3 separate regions of the Homo sapiens genome follow, and all the other regions are linked to region 1. The links are contacts of gene promoters, found by promoter capture Hi-C in human tissues and cell types (Jung and others, 2019). All regions are on one chromosome and are shown on one strand. Each heading gives the region's core, a stretch centred on a gene start or on the middle of the fragment in contact. The rest is flanking DNA. Distances are from core to core; before and after follow the strand shown.

Region 1 (4,094 bases), core at 1,570-4,069:
TGAGGAAACTGATTTTATTTTCACTTGACCAAAACTCCTAGTACCTCATCCCCAATCCCTTCTCAGGGTAATGTTCAGTTGCTTTGTTACTTTCAAGATAGAACTAAAAACTGTGGGATAAACTAAAGATCCCAGAGATTAAAAAGCGTGAAATCACTAAGCTAATCATCAGACTTTGCCCTAAAAAAAAGCTGTTAGTGTGATAGGGATCATATACCAGTTTATTTATACTTTATTTTTCTCCTTAGCATTTATCACTACTAAACGAGTTATGTATTTGACTTATTTATTGTCTCCTCTGCAGAGGAAGCAACACAAAGGCAGGGTATGTTTCTTTTCACTGCTTTCATCTCTAAGTCCTACAGCAGTGTAGGACCTCAATAAACTATTCTACAAAGTCGGCAAATGCCCCACAGATAAGAGTTTCTCCTAATAAAATCCTACCTGTATCACCCAATAAATGACTAAGAACTCCTGAAGGTTCCAAAAATCTAAAATCACAACCACACCTACCTTATCCATATTTCTTCCTTAACCTACAATAGCCCCCAACTAATCTACCCACTCCACTTTCTCCTTCTCTACTTCGTCTTTCATACTGATGCCAGAATGTTGTTCTCAAACAAAAACTTTATCTCATTCTCCTACTTATGTGTCCCTTAGCTCCACAAGAAAAAGTCCAAGCTCCTTAAAAAAGGAAAATAAAGTCTTCTACAAAGCAAGCCATCTCTTCAGTCAGCTCTCCAGCCTTACCAAAGCACTTCGGTTCACAGCCCACTGCCCACTTTCAAATTCCTACTGCCATACTCCACCTGGAATGACCTTTCCCACTTCGTACACCCTCTGCTCATTTTGTTTTGATTTTTGGTGTTTTTTTTTTTTTTTGCGACGGAGTATCGCTCTCGTCGCCCGGGCTGGAGTGCAATGGCGAGATCTCAGCTCACTGCAACCTCCGCCTCCTGGTTTCAAGCGATTCTTCTGCCTCAGCCTCCCGAGTAGCTGGGATTACAGGCGCCTGCCACCACGCCCGGCTAATTTTTGTATTTTTTTAGTAGAGACGGGGTTTCACCATGTTGGCCAGGCTGGTCTCGAACTCCTGACCTCAGGCGATCTGCCCTCCTTGGCCTCCCAAAGTGCTGGGATTACAGGCGTGAGCCACCGCGCTCGGTTCTGCTCATCTTTTAAAACCCAGTTCAATTCATCTCCTCCAAGAAGCTTCATCGACTCCCCCAGGATTCACTCGCCCCATGATCTGACTGCACTTTGTACATACCTCCACTAGAGCATTTATCACTCTGTATTGTAATTATGTCTGTGTCCAGCTCCCTCACTAGATTGTGAGGTCCATGAGGGAGGGCGGTGTCTTATTCATCTCTGTATCCCCTGTGCCTAGCGAATACAGATGCAGAAAGGCCATCTCCAGATCAAGAGGAAATTAACCCAAGATTGGTTATATGGGATTAGATCTCTGGAAGAGAAGCGCCCATCACCTGCAGTGGGCCCCCAGATGACTGGATCTTGTGTTCAGGCATTTCAGAGACAGGAACATAGAAATCTGACACAGCCGCAGCCAGGTAAAACATCGCAGAAGGGCCTGCAAAGAGAAACACAAGGTGTTAACAAATCGGCGAGGTACGATATAGGATCAGCTCCTTCTCAACTCGGGTTCCCCAGCTGAGATCCGTGGGTAAGCAGGAGGTAAGGGGATAAGTGGCTGGAAAGAAAGGCTGTGCTTCCAGGCAAAAGGGGTACTCCTAGGGCACGCACCTAGCGGATTGAGTGCCTGGGCCGCAGCCTGCAACAGATGCAAATAGTCCGCCAAAGTGGTGAACTCTACTGCCAGGAAGGTGCCTGCAGCCGCAGCCTCCTGGTAGCTCCTCAGAGCCTCAGCAAAACCCGGAAGTGCATTCTCCTCGGCCTCCAGGCTCAGCAAGCCCGAAAGGGCTGGGCCCGAAGGCCGCAGAGCGGACAGCCAAGTCTGGGGTGGGAAGCGGTGGGCATAGGGGAAGGCAGAGCGAGCGCGATACAAGAACAGGACCCCGTAGCCGGCGGCTAGGAAGGCCTCGGCCGAGGTTGCACCGCGCCGCCCGCTGCTGAAGTTGTCCAGGAAGCGCACCGGCCGCGCTTCCAGTGGGACCTTGGTGCCGCCTGACGTAACCAACACCACCCGCCGGCCCTGCGCGCCCAGCCTGGCCGCGAAGCGAGCCATAACCTCAGCCCAGCGCGCAGCACCGGGAGGCTGGGGGAACTCGGCTACCGGATCCATTTCCGCCATCTGCAGCGCAGCGGCCGGCGCCTGCGCACGTTTCGCGGCCGCCGCGCCACGCCCCTTCTCGCCTACCTGGTGTACGCGCCGCGCCGTACTGAGTGGGCGGTTCACTACCCTTCTTTTGACACTAGGTCCCGATCTCGCCAAGTCTGGAAATGCGTAGTTGTTCTGCCCCAGAGCCCAGCGAAAGTGACACTGCAACGAGGGGGATCCCCGGCTGGGTGGGCATCTGGTAGGGTCACGTTCCCTCACGTTCGTTTCCTAGCCTGGGTGAAGAACTGGCCATGTTTGACCCTTACCGGCCACTGTACGGGCCTTTCTGGACTTGGACTCCTTGGGAGTCGTTTCTCGGCCATTTGACCCGTGGGACTTGTGGGTTTTGTGCTGCTTTTTCTTTCTTTCTTCCCCTTTTCCAACTTCAGCAATACACCCAGATGTTAGTCGAGTCACGTCCCGCCGCCCTCTGCCCTTGAAATGCTGGCAAGTACGCAGCCCCGCGATCGTCACGTGACGCCGGGGTTCAGCGTATCCTTGCTGGGCAACCGTCTTAGAGACCAGCACTGCTGGCTGCACCATGAATGTGATCTACCCACTGGCAGTCCCCAAGGGGCGCAGACTCTGCTGTGAGGTGTGCGAAGCCCCAGCCGAGCGGGTGTGCGCGGCCTGCACAGTCACTTATTACTGGTAGGCCCTGAAACGTGGCACCTGGGCGCTATAACTCCCTCCCTCTCTCCCTTTCCCGGGTCTGGCTTGGGTACCTTGCGTTAGCCGTTGCCCCTGACTCTGCAAGGGACACCTCAAAACGGCTTTAAGACAGGCCCCTAAGACTCCCGTGGCCTCGTCTGTCTCATCTCCCACTTATTCGTCACTCATGTTTTCTGAAGGCGTACTCTGTGTTATGCACTATTTTAGGTGCTAAAGTTACTGGGGCAGCTCGGTAGATCAGTTCCTTCAAAGATCTAACATTCCAATGTGGGAGACAAATCAGTAAAGAAACAGGCCGGGCGCGGTGGCTCACGCCTGTAATCCCAGCACTTCGGGAGGCCGAGGCGGGCGGATCGCCTGAGGTCAGGAGTTCGAGACCAGCCTGGCCAACATGGTGAAACCCTGTCTCTACTAAAAAATACAAAAATTAGGCGGGAGTGGTGCTGGGCGCCTGTAATCCCAGCTACTCGGGAGGCTGAAGCAGAAGAATCGCTTGAACCCGGGAGGCGGAGCTCGCAGTGAGCGGAGATCGCGCCACTGCACTCCAGCTTGGGCAACGAGAGTGAGACGATAGTGAATGGGGCAGTATGTGGAAAGCTTTCCCTGTGGAAGAAACATTTGAGCTGCATTTTGAGAGGGCAGTCAGAACCTGCTGTGTACAGGAGTAGTGAAGAAGGGTAGGGCATTCCCGGCATCCGGGACTGCTAGGGCAAATGGCAAAAGAACAGAGTTTGCTAAGGGCCGAGTGGAGAACGTAGTAGTGGAGGGAGCAGTCAGTGATTTTCAAACTGCAGGCCAGGGCCCTTTAGCAGTTTATGAATAAGTCACAATCACCATTTAGAGAAAACAACAACAACAAAAAAGAGCACAGAATGAGTAGAAAGTATCAGGTTAATCCTACCTGAATTGTTTCTTAAAACTTTTGTCTTAGTGTTTTATGTGGACATGTGTGTGTGTACAGGAAAAATGTATTTCTTACTATAGGTTGAGTCAAAATTAGCCGGATGTGGTGGCGTGCACCTGTAATCCTAGCTACTCGGGAGGCTGAAGCAGGAGAATCGTTTGAACCCGGGAGGCGGAGGTTGCAGTGAGCCGAGATCGCTCCATTGCACTCCAGCTT
Region 2 (3,904 bases), core at 325-2,824, 160 kb after region 1:
TCTCCAAAATTGACCATATGCTTGGCCATTAAAGCAAGTCTCAATACATTCCAAAATACTGAAATCAGATCAAGTATCTTTTTGGAGCACAGTGGAATAAAATTAGAAATCAAATACCAAGAGGGACTCTTAAAACTATTCAAGTAGATGGAAACTAAACAACATGCTCCTGAATGAACTTTGGGTAAACATGCAATTAAGGCGGAAATTGAAAACAATTTTGAAATAAATGAAAATGGAGACACAGCATACTAAAACCTCTGGGATACAGCAAAGACAGTGCTAAGAGGAAAGTTTATAGCGTTAAATGCCCACATTAAAAAGATAGGAAGATCTCAAGCTACCACCATACATCAAGGAACTAGAAAAATAACAAACCACACAAAAAGCTAGCAGAAGAAAAGAGCAAAGATCAGAGCAGACCTAAATGAGATAAAAAAATGATACAAAGGATAAGTGAAACAAAAAGTTGGTTCTTTGAAAGGATACACAAAATTGACAGCCTGCTAGCTAAGTTAACCAAGAAAAAAAAAAGTTTTAAATATAAGCAGAAATGATAAAGACAGCATTACACCTGACACCACAGAAATACAAAAGATCATCAGAGACTGCTGTGAACATTTCTGTGCTCATAAACTAGAAATAGCTGGGGGAAATGCACAAATTCCTGGAAAGATACAACCTCGCAAGATTGAACCAGGAAGAAATGTGAATCCTGAACAGACCAATAACAAGTAACAAAATTCAATCAGTAATAAAGGAAAACTTCTGTATTAGTCTGTTCTCATGCTGATATAAAGAACTACCTGAGACTGGGTAATTTATAAAGGAAAGAGGTTTAGTTGACTCACAGTTCCACAGGGCTGGGGAAGCCTCAGGAAGCTTATAATCATGGCAGAAGGGGAAGCAGACATGTTCTTCACATGGCGGCAGGAAGGAGAAGTGCTGAGCAAAGTGGAGGGAAGCCCCTTGTAAAACCATCAGATCTCGTGAGAACTTACTATCAAGAGAACAGTATGAGGGTAACTGCCCCCATGATTCAATTACCTGCCACTGAACCCTCCCATGACACATGGGAGTTAGGGGAACTACGAGGTGAGATTTGGGTAGGGACACAGCCAAACCTTATTACCTTCTAACAATAAAAAAGGCCAGGACCAGATAGATTTGTAGCTGAATTTTGCCAGACATATAAAGAAAAGCTGGTATTTAGGAAAGAATACTGAAACTATTTCAGAAAATTGAGGAGGAGTAATTCCTTTCTAACTCATTCTACAAAACCAGTATCAAAGTCAGGTGAGGACACCAGTATCAAAGTCAGGTGAGGACACCAGATACCAAAGTCAGGCAAGGACACAACCAGAAAAGAAAACCACAGGCCAATATCCCTAATGAACATAGGTGCAAAAATCCTCAACAAATGCTGAATCCGACAGCACATCAAAAAGATAATAAATCATGATCAAGTGGGTTTTATTCCAGGGATGCAAGAATGTTTAAGCATATGCAAATCAATAAACATGATTCACCACATAAATAGAACCAAACCCCAAAACTGTATGATTATCTCCATAGATGCAGAAAAGTGATTTGATAAAATCCAACATCGCTTCATAACAACCCTCAATAAACTAGGCACTGGAGGTATGTACCTTAAAATAATAGCTATATATGACAAACCTACAGACAACATCATGTTGAAAGGGAGAAGTTGAAAACATTCTCCTTAAGAACAGGAACAAGACAAGGATGTCCACTCTCACCACTCTTGTTCAACATAGTACTGGAAATCCTAGCCAGAGCAATTAGGCAAGAGAAAGAAATAAAAGGCATCCAAATTGGAAAAGAGGAAGTTTCCTGATAACATGACTGTATACTTAGAAAAGTCTAAAGACTCCTAGACTTCGTTGAAGTTTCAGGATACAAAATCAATGTACAATGATCAGTAGCATTTCTATAAATAACTTTGAAGCTGATAACCAAATCAAGAACCCAATCCCATTTACAGTAGACACACACACACACCCACACCCGCACACCCCTAGGAATACATTTAACCAAGGAGGTGAAAGATCTTTACGAGGAGAACTATATAACACCAATGGAAGAAATTGCAGATGACACAAACAAATGGCAAAACATTTTGTGCTGTTGGATTGGAAGAATCAATATCACAAAAATGACCATACTATTCAAAGCAATCTACAGATTCAATGAAATTCCTTTCAAATTACTAACATCAGTTTTCACAGAATTAGAAAAACAGCACTGGAGTGCATATGGAATCAAAAAAGCACTCAGCCAGAGCGATCCTAAGCAAAAGGAACAAATTCAGAGGCATCAGATTGCCTGACTTCAAATTATACTACAAGGCTATAGTAACTAAAGCAGCATGATAGTGGTACAAAAATATGCATAGAGATCAGTGGAACAGAATAGAGAGCCTAGAAATAAAGCCACATACCTACAACCAACTGATCTTTGACAAAGTTGATGAAAATAAACAGTGGAGAAAGGACATTAACACTCTATTCAATAGATGGTGCTGGGATATTGGCTAGCCATATGCAAAAGAAGGAAACTGGACCCTTGTGTCTCACCATGTATGAAAATTAACTCAGGACGGATGGATTAAAGACTTGAACATAAGACCTTAAACTATAAAAGTCCTAGAAGAAAACTTAGGAAGAACTCTTGGATGTTGGCCTAGGCGAAGAATTTATGAGGAAGACAAAAATAGACAAATGAGACTTAATTAAACTAAAGCTTCACAGCAAAAGAAATACTCAACAGATTAAACAGCCTATAGAATGGGAGAAAATGTTTGCAAATGATTACTTTCAGAAAGGATGAACATCAGAATCTACACGGAACTCTAATAACGGGGAAAAAACAGCTTCTTTTAAAAACTAGGCAGAGGACATGAGACATTTCTTGAAGAAATACAAGTGCCAACAAACACTTGAAAAAAATACTCAACATTACTAATCATCAGAGAAATGCAAATTAAAATCACAATGAGATACCATCTTATACCAGTCAGAATTGCTGTTAAAAAGCCAAAAAATAACAGATGTTGGTGTGGTTGTGGAGAAAAGGCAGTGCTTACGCACTGCTGACGGGAATGTTCAACCTCTGTGGAAAACTATGGAGATTTCTCAAAGAACTAAAAATAGAACTACCTTTTGATCCAGTAAACACACTACTGGGGGTATCTGCCCAAAATAAAATAAATCACTATATACAAAAGACACCTGGACAGGTGCGGTGGGTCATGCCTGTAATTCCAGCAGTTTGGGAGGCCAAGGCAGCGGATCACCTGAGGTCAGGAGTCAAGACCAGCCTGGCCAACATCGTGAAACCTTGTCTCTACTAAAAATAGAAAAATCACTCAGACAAGGTGGTGCACACCTGTAATCCCAGCTAATTGAGAGGCAGAGGCAGGAGAATCGCTTGAACCTGCAAGGCAGAGGTTGCAGTGAGCCAAGATTGCGCCACTGCATTCCAGCCTGGGGGACAGAGTGAGACTGTGTCTCACCAAAAAAAAAAAAAAAAAAAAAAAAGACACTTGTAGTCATGTTCAACACTATTCATAACAGCAAAGTCATGGAAGCAACCTAACTGTTCATCAGCAGTTGACTGAATAAAGTGTAGTATACAGATACCATGGAGTACTATGCAGCATAGAAAAGAATGAAATCATGTACTTTTCAGCAACATGGAGTTGGAGGTTATTATCCTAAGTGAAATAACTCAGAAACAAAATCAAATACCACATGTTCTCACTTATAAGTGGAAGCTAAATAATAGGTATGCATGTACATAAAGATGGAAATAATAGACACTGAAGAGTCCACCGGGGGGAGGGTGGGAGGAGGATGAGGGTTGAAAAATTACATGTTGG
Region 3 (4,262 bases), core at 720-3,219, 190 kb after region 1:
AGATTTTAGTTGTCTCTGCCCACCTTTTTACACATGGGGATTTCTCGTCCCTTCTCTGTCAGTAGACTGTGTTTGCTTGTTATTCAGTGGTATGCTTTTGGTAGAGGCAAGGAGTTTTCTCTGTTGTGTTGGTCCAGCCTTAGTCTTATGCAGACCCTCGAACTTAGGGTGGGCTGTTTCAGTGTTTCTTCCCTCAGCCAGACTAGTCTTGTGTATCTGTAGTTACTTTTGGGTGAGAGTTTCGCGCCTCTTCTCCAGGTGTAGCAGACCTCTACATGGTATCTGTATAGGATCCTGGGCCCAAGGTAGTTTCCTATACCTCTCCCAGAGTTCAAGGGATTTGCTTCTACTTTTCCTCCAGCAGCAGAACATCTTTGCCTATGTACTGGGTAAGGGTTTCCTATCCCTTCCTAGAGGCACCAGGGTTTTGTTTCCATTCTTCCCCCAGAAGCAGTGAATCTTTGCCAGAGTCCTATGGGTGACAGGTTTTGCTGCCTTTACTGCAAACTTGTTTTTTTGCTTTGTAAAATCTATGGAAGGTTGGTGGGCTTTGTCTCCTCACTGCCTGTCACTGTCAATCACTTTCTTCCTGTTTATGCCACTAGGGGAGACTTTCTTGGGTCTCCTTTCCTACCCCTATTTTTTCTTAGGAACACATGGTAAAGACCTATGGAGAAGAGCTTAAGAGTGTGTGGGAACTTCTCGTGTCTGGGGTTCTTGTTGCTCTAAAGTGACAGCCCCACGCTTGGCCTTTAAAATTTTAGCTAATTTCTTTTTAACTGCTTGGATGGTGGCCATCTCTTTTTCCTGTGCTCTGCCAAAGGTGATTTAGTTGTGTGTCCAGTTTCTCATTGAATAGCCTTGCTCCTCTTAGGAATGTGGTTTGGTTGCCTTGCAACCTGAGCTCTCTGATGTGGCTTAAAAATAGGTTTTTTTTGTTTATTTTTTTTAAAGCTTACCTAGGGTTTTCTCTTTGGGAGAGAGCATCATTCTTTGTAGCTGTTTACATCCCAAGCATAAGTTTTAAATTTCTGCTTTGGTAATAGATGGTCTTGAATTTATATTCTGTAGTCATCTTTTAAAAACGTTTAAAATTCCAATATTGTGCCTGAGGGAGATAAGTTTTATTATAGGCATTCTTGTTAGACTACTGAATTTTATATTAAACAATAAAGCAGATATTATGTCAAAATATGATCCCAGAAGGTACCATTCTAAGTAATGGCTAAATGCAGTTGGACCTCTTCTCTCCCAAATACTAGCCATTTGGGAACAAACCAAGATAATTTGAGAATGGGTTTTGGAGCATTTAATTGAGAAGAAATGGACTTTGGGGCATATTCTGTAAGAATTGGGGTACAGTCCTACCTATTCATGAACAAATTTCTTTTTCACAGACTCTGCAGGTTTCCAAGGGCATTTTCCTGCTACCCACCTTGGGTGTTCTTCCCTGCTACAATGAAGAATTTAGATGTTCTTCCCAGCTCCCTGTAGCCAGTATCTTTCCATGTGGTTTTCTTTTTTACAGATTGTGGTGAGAACCTAATAGGGTTCTATATGTTTTTTTGTAATAGAGCAGTGAATGTTTTTTTAAAGCATTTTTTAAACTAATTAATAAGTGGTAATACATGTGTCTTGCAGACCATTTGGACTTTGCAGAAAAGTAAAGAGAAGAAAATAGTCATCATCTTTAATTTCATGTAGAGTAACTTCTTACATTTTGCATTCTGGCTTATTTCCAAGAATAAATAAATAAAATAAGTACCACAATTAAAGTCATAATATGTATCATAATATGCCAATTTTATATTTGGAATTTAATATTTAACATTACATTACAGGCATCTTCCTGTATCAATAAAAGTCATAAGCACTTAAAATGCTACATATATTACATTTTATGAAATCCTCTAGAAATTATTTTCCAGTAACAGCTTCCCCTCATAGCATTCATAATTTGAAAGTCAGAAAGATTTAAATTTTAAGCTGATTAAAAAGTTTATTCCATTTGTAATTGTTTTGCAAAGCATAAAGATGTTTAGATTTCTAATTCTGTTTTTAAATTTGGGTTATGTTTTTTGGATTTTATTGACCTTATGGCTTTTCTTCTTTAATTCCAGAATTCCATACGACATAATCTGTCATTGAACAAATGTTTCCTTAAAGTGCCTCGATCTAAGGATGACCCTGGAAAGGTAGGATTCATCTTCTTAAAACAGTTGAATTCTTCAGTATGTCACTTGTCATGTTTGAATTAAGAACTTTTCCAGTTCATTGAATAGGAACCTCTGCAAAATAGTAAGTCCTCCCCCACCCTGCTCTAAAGCTTGTTAGAGAGTTTTAAGCTGTGGGAACCTAACTAGTGTATAGCTGTTGCACACCACAGTGCTGTTGTACTTTGCTGTTTCTAATCTAATCTTTGGTTGAAGTATTGTGTATTAAATTAAATTTGGTGATTGAGCTGCTTGTCAGGAACCATAATTCATTATTACATATAAGGGGTGCATCTCTGTGTAACTGGCAAAAAGTGGAAGTATTCTTACACTGGAATAAAACAGTTTCTCTGTTATTAGCCCATTTCTGAGTGTAATCAAGAAGAGTATTCTGTACTTGACTCTTCTTATCTCCTGACACCACTGCATTTTTCACGTTTTTAGCGTTTTTTCTATGGTGACTCCTCCCTTTTTTTGTTGTTTTAATAGCTAGTCAACTATAGTGTGACCTGAACTTGGTCCTAGTTGCTTGGTCTCTGAAACTTAAGAGTACTTGGTTGTACTGTATTTGGTTGTCAAGGTAAGTTACTAGATTAGGACTTTGAGACAGTGTATTTATTGGGAAGCACGATGCTTGTTTAGGTGGCTAGACTTCTTATATTTGTTTTTAGGCTAACTGATTTTGGAAGAATCTTTCTAAAATGTAACCCTGGTCATGTAAGCACCTTGCTTAAAAGTATTCCTTAGTGTCCAGGAGGTGTTTACTTTCTCTTCTTGTAAAATATTCTTTACTGTTTTTTTCTCAATCTGCCTTTCTAGCTATAATTCACCTCATTCAAGACTCATCATGAAGAACTACTTGAAGTTTTCCAAACATGCTATTCATATGGTCTTCTGTACAAATTTCCTTGCTTTACTTGTCTAGACTGCTTCTTATCTTTCAGTATTGAGCTGCAACATGACTTCTCTGAGGCTTTTTTGTTTCCCCATACTTCAGCTGAATTTGTTGCTCCCTCTTTTGAGTTCTTTTTATTTTGTAGCGACCGTCATCATTGTAGTAGCTCCTAATTGGACTCTCAATGGCTGGGCTCGATCCCTCCAGTTTATATTAACTTTCACATAGTAGGCAGCAATCTTCAAAAAAAAAAAAAAAAAAAAAAAAAAAAGTTAACCTACTCATATGGTCTCTTTTTTTCAAGCTCTTTGTTAGTTATCTACTGCCCTTAAAATCTAAATTTATGCAAGTAGGGTTCATGTGTATCTTGTTCACTGTTTAGACCCAGTTGCTTGCACAGTGGCTGATGGCACTGAGGAGACACCCTTGTTGAATGAATGAATATACTGTATCCTCTGTTAGACTGTTAACTTCTTGAAGTTAGAGATGAAGAGTTATTCGTTTCTATCTTTAGGCAGTTTTTCTGAAGTAATGAACATTTTATAGCACTTTTTATCATCTGTCTGCTCCGTCAAGTTGGTTCTCAGTAAGATTGAACAGATTATTATAATAGTCTTGTAAGAAATTGTTTCTCTATGTTTTTAACTTTGAGATTCTGAATAGGAATTGGTGCACCTTTTCCTTTAAAGGAAAGGAGGCTTATTACAAAAAGATAATTAGATTTTAAAAATAAATTCTTTATCACATTTCCTATAGGCAATGAGTATATATGAATCAGACTGAAAAATATTTTTAAGAGACTTCAGAGATTATTTACTAGAGTCCTGTGAAGTTACTATTTGGGTTCTGTAAACATTTTGGTTCTGATTGGATTTTTAAATGAATTTGAAATAATTAAAAAAAATTAAAAATCAGTACACATGAATGCTTAATTCTATCATGTACTTGATTTTAACCAATTGGAGACTCTTAAAAATGTGTCATGTCAGGTATTTTTCTTTTGTGTAGAAGTTTAAGCTTTTGTTCATCTTTAATATATGGGGTAAGACAGATATGGAAAACATGTTACTCTTTGCAACTCTTCTTTTTGAATCAGGATTCTCAATGTGCAACTAAAACAAAATACAGAAATAAATTGAGTCCTGAGAGGCTAA

Evidence for each region. Contacts are between HindIII fragments. The study calls those that stand out against the background at their distance.
Region 2: a fragment that was not itself captured here is called in contact with the fragment with the promoter of ZMYND12 in region 1 in 1 of the 25 tissues and cell types used here (bladder).
Region 3: a contact is called between a fragment that was not itself captured here and the fragment with the promoter of ZMYND12 in region 1, in 1 of the 25 tissues and cell types used here (dorsolateral prefrontal cortex).

The regions. Positions count from the first base shown.
Region 1 is chr1:42,454,747-42,458,840 of GRCh38, reverse strand. It overlaps ZMYND12 (zinc finger MYND-type containing 12), which reads left to right and starts at 2,819. Exons shown (of 8, transcript NM_032257.5): 1 at 2,819-2,953. The coding sequence starts at 2,844. PPCS (phosphopantothenoylcysteine synthetase) reads right to left here and starts at 2,298. Exons shown (of 3, transcript NM_024664.4): 1 at 1,768-2,298; 2 at 1,491-1,594. The coding sequence starts at 2,275. It also overlaps a transcript of CCDC30 not described here. RefSeq lists enhancers at 1,948-2,067, 2,158-2,227, 2,468-2,697. The HindIII fragment of the contact is 5,227 bases long and covers 238-4,094 here.
Region 2 is chr1:42,295,179-42,299,082 of GRCh38, reverse strand. All of the region lies in intron 2 of FOXJ3 (forkhead box J3), which reads left to right. Among named protein-coding and RNA genes, the nearest start is that of FOXJ3, 38 kb to the left of the region's middle. The HindIII fragment of the contact is 3,640 bases long and covers 1-3,394 here.
Region 3 is chr1:42,263,048-42,267,309 of GRCh38, reverse strand. It overlaps FOXJ3 (forkhead box J3), which reads left to right. Exons shown (of 13, transcript NM_014947.5): 4 at 2,121-2,195. Among named protein-coding and RNA genes, the nearest start is that of FOXJ3, 70 kb to the left of the region's middle. The HindIII fragment of the contact is 5,095 bases long and covers 1-4,262 here.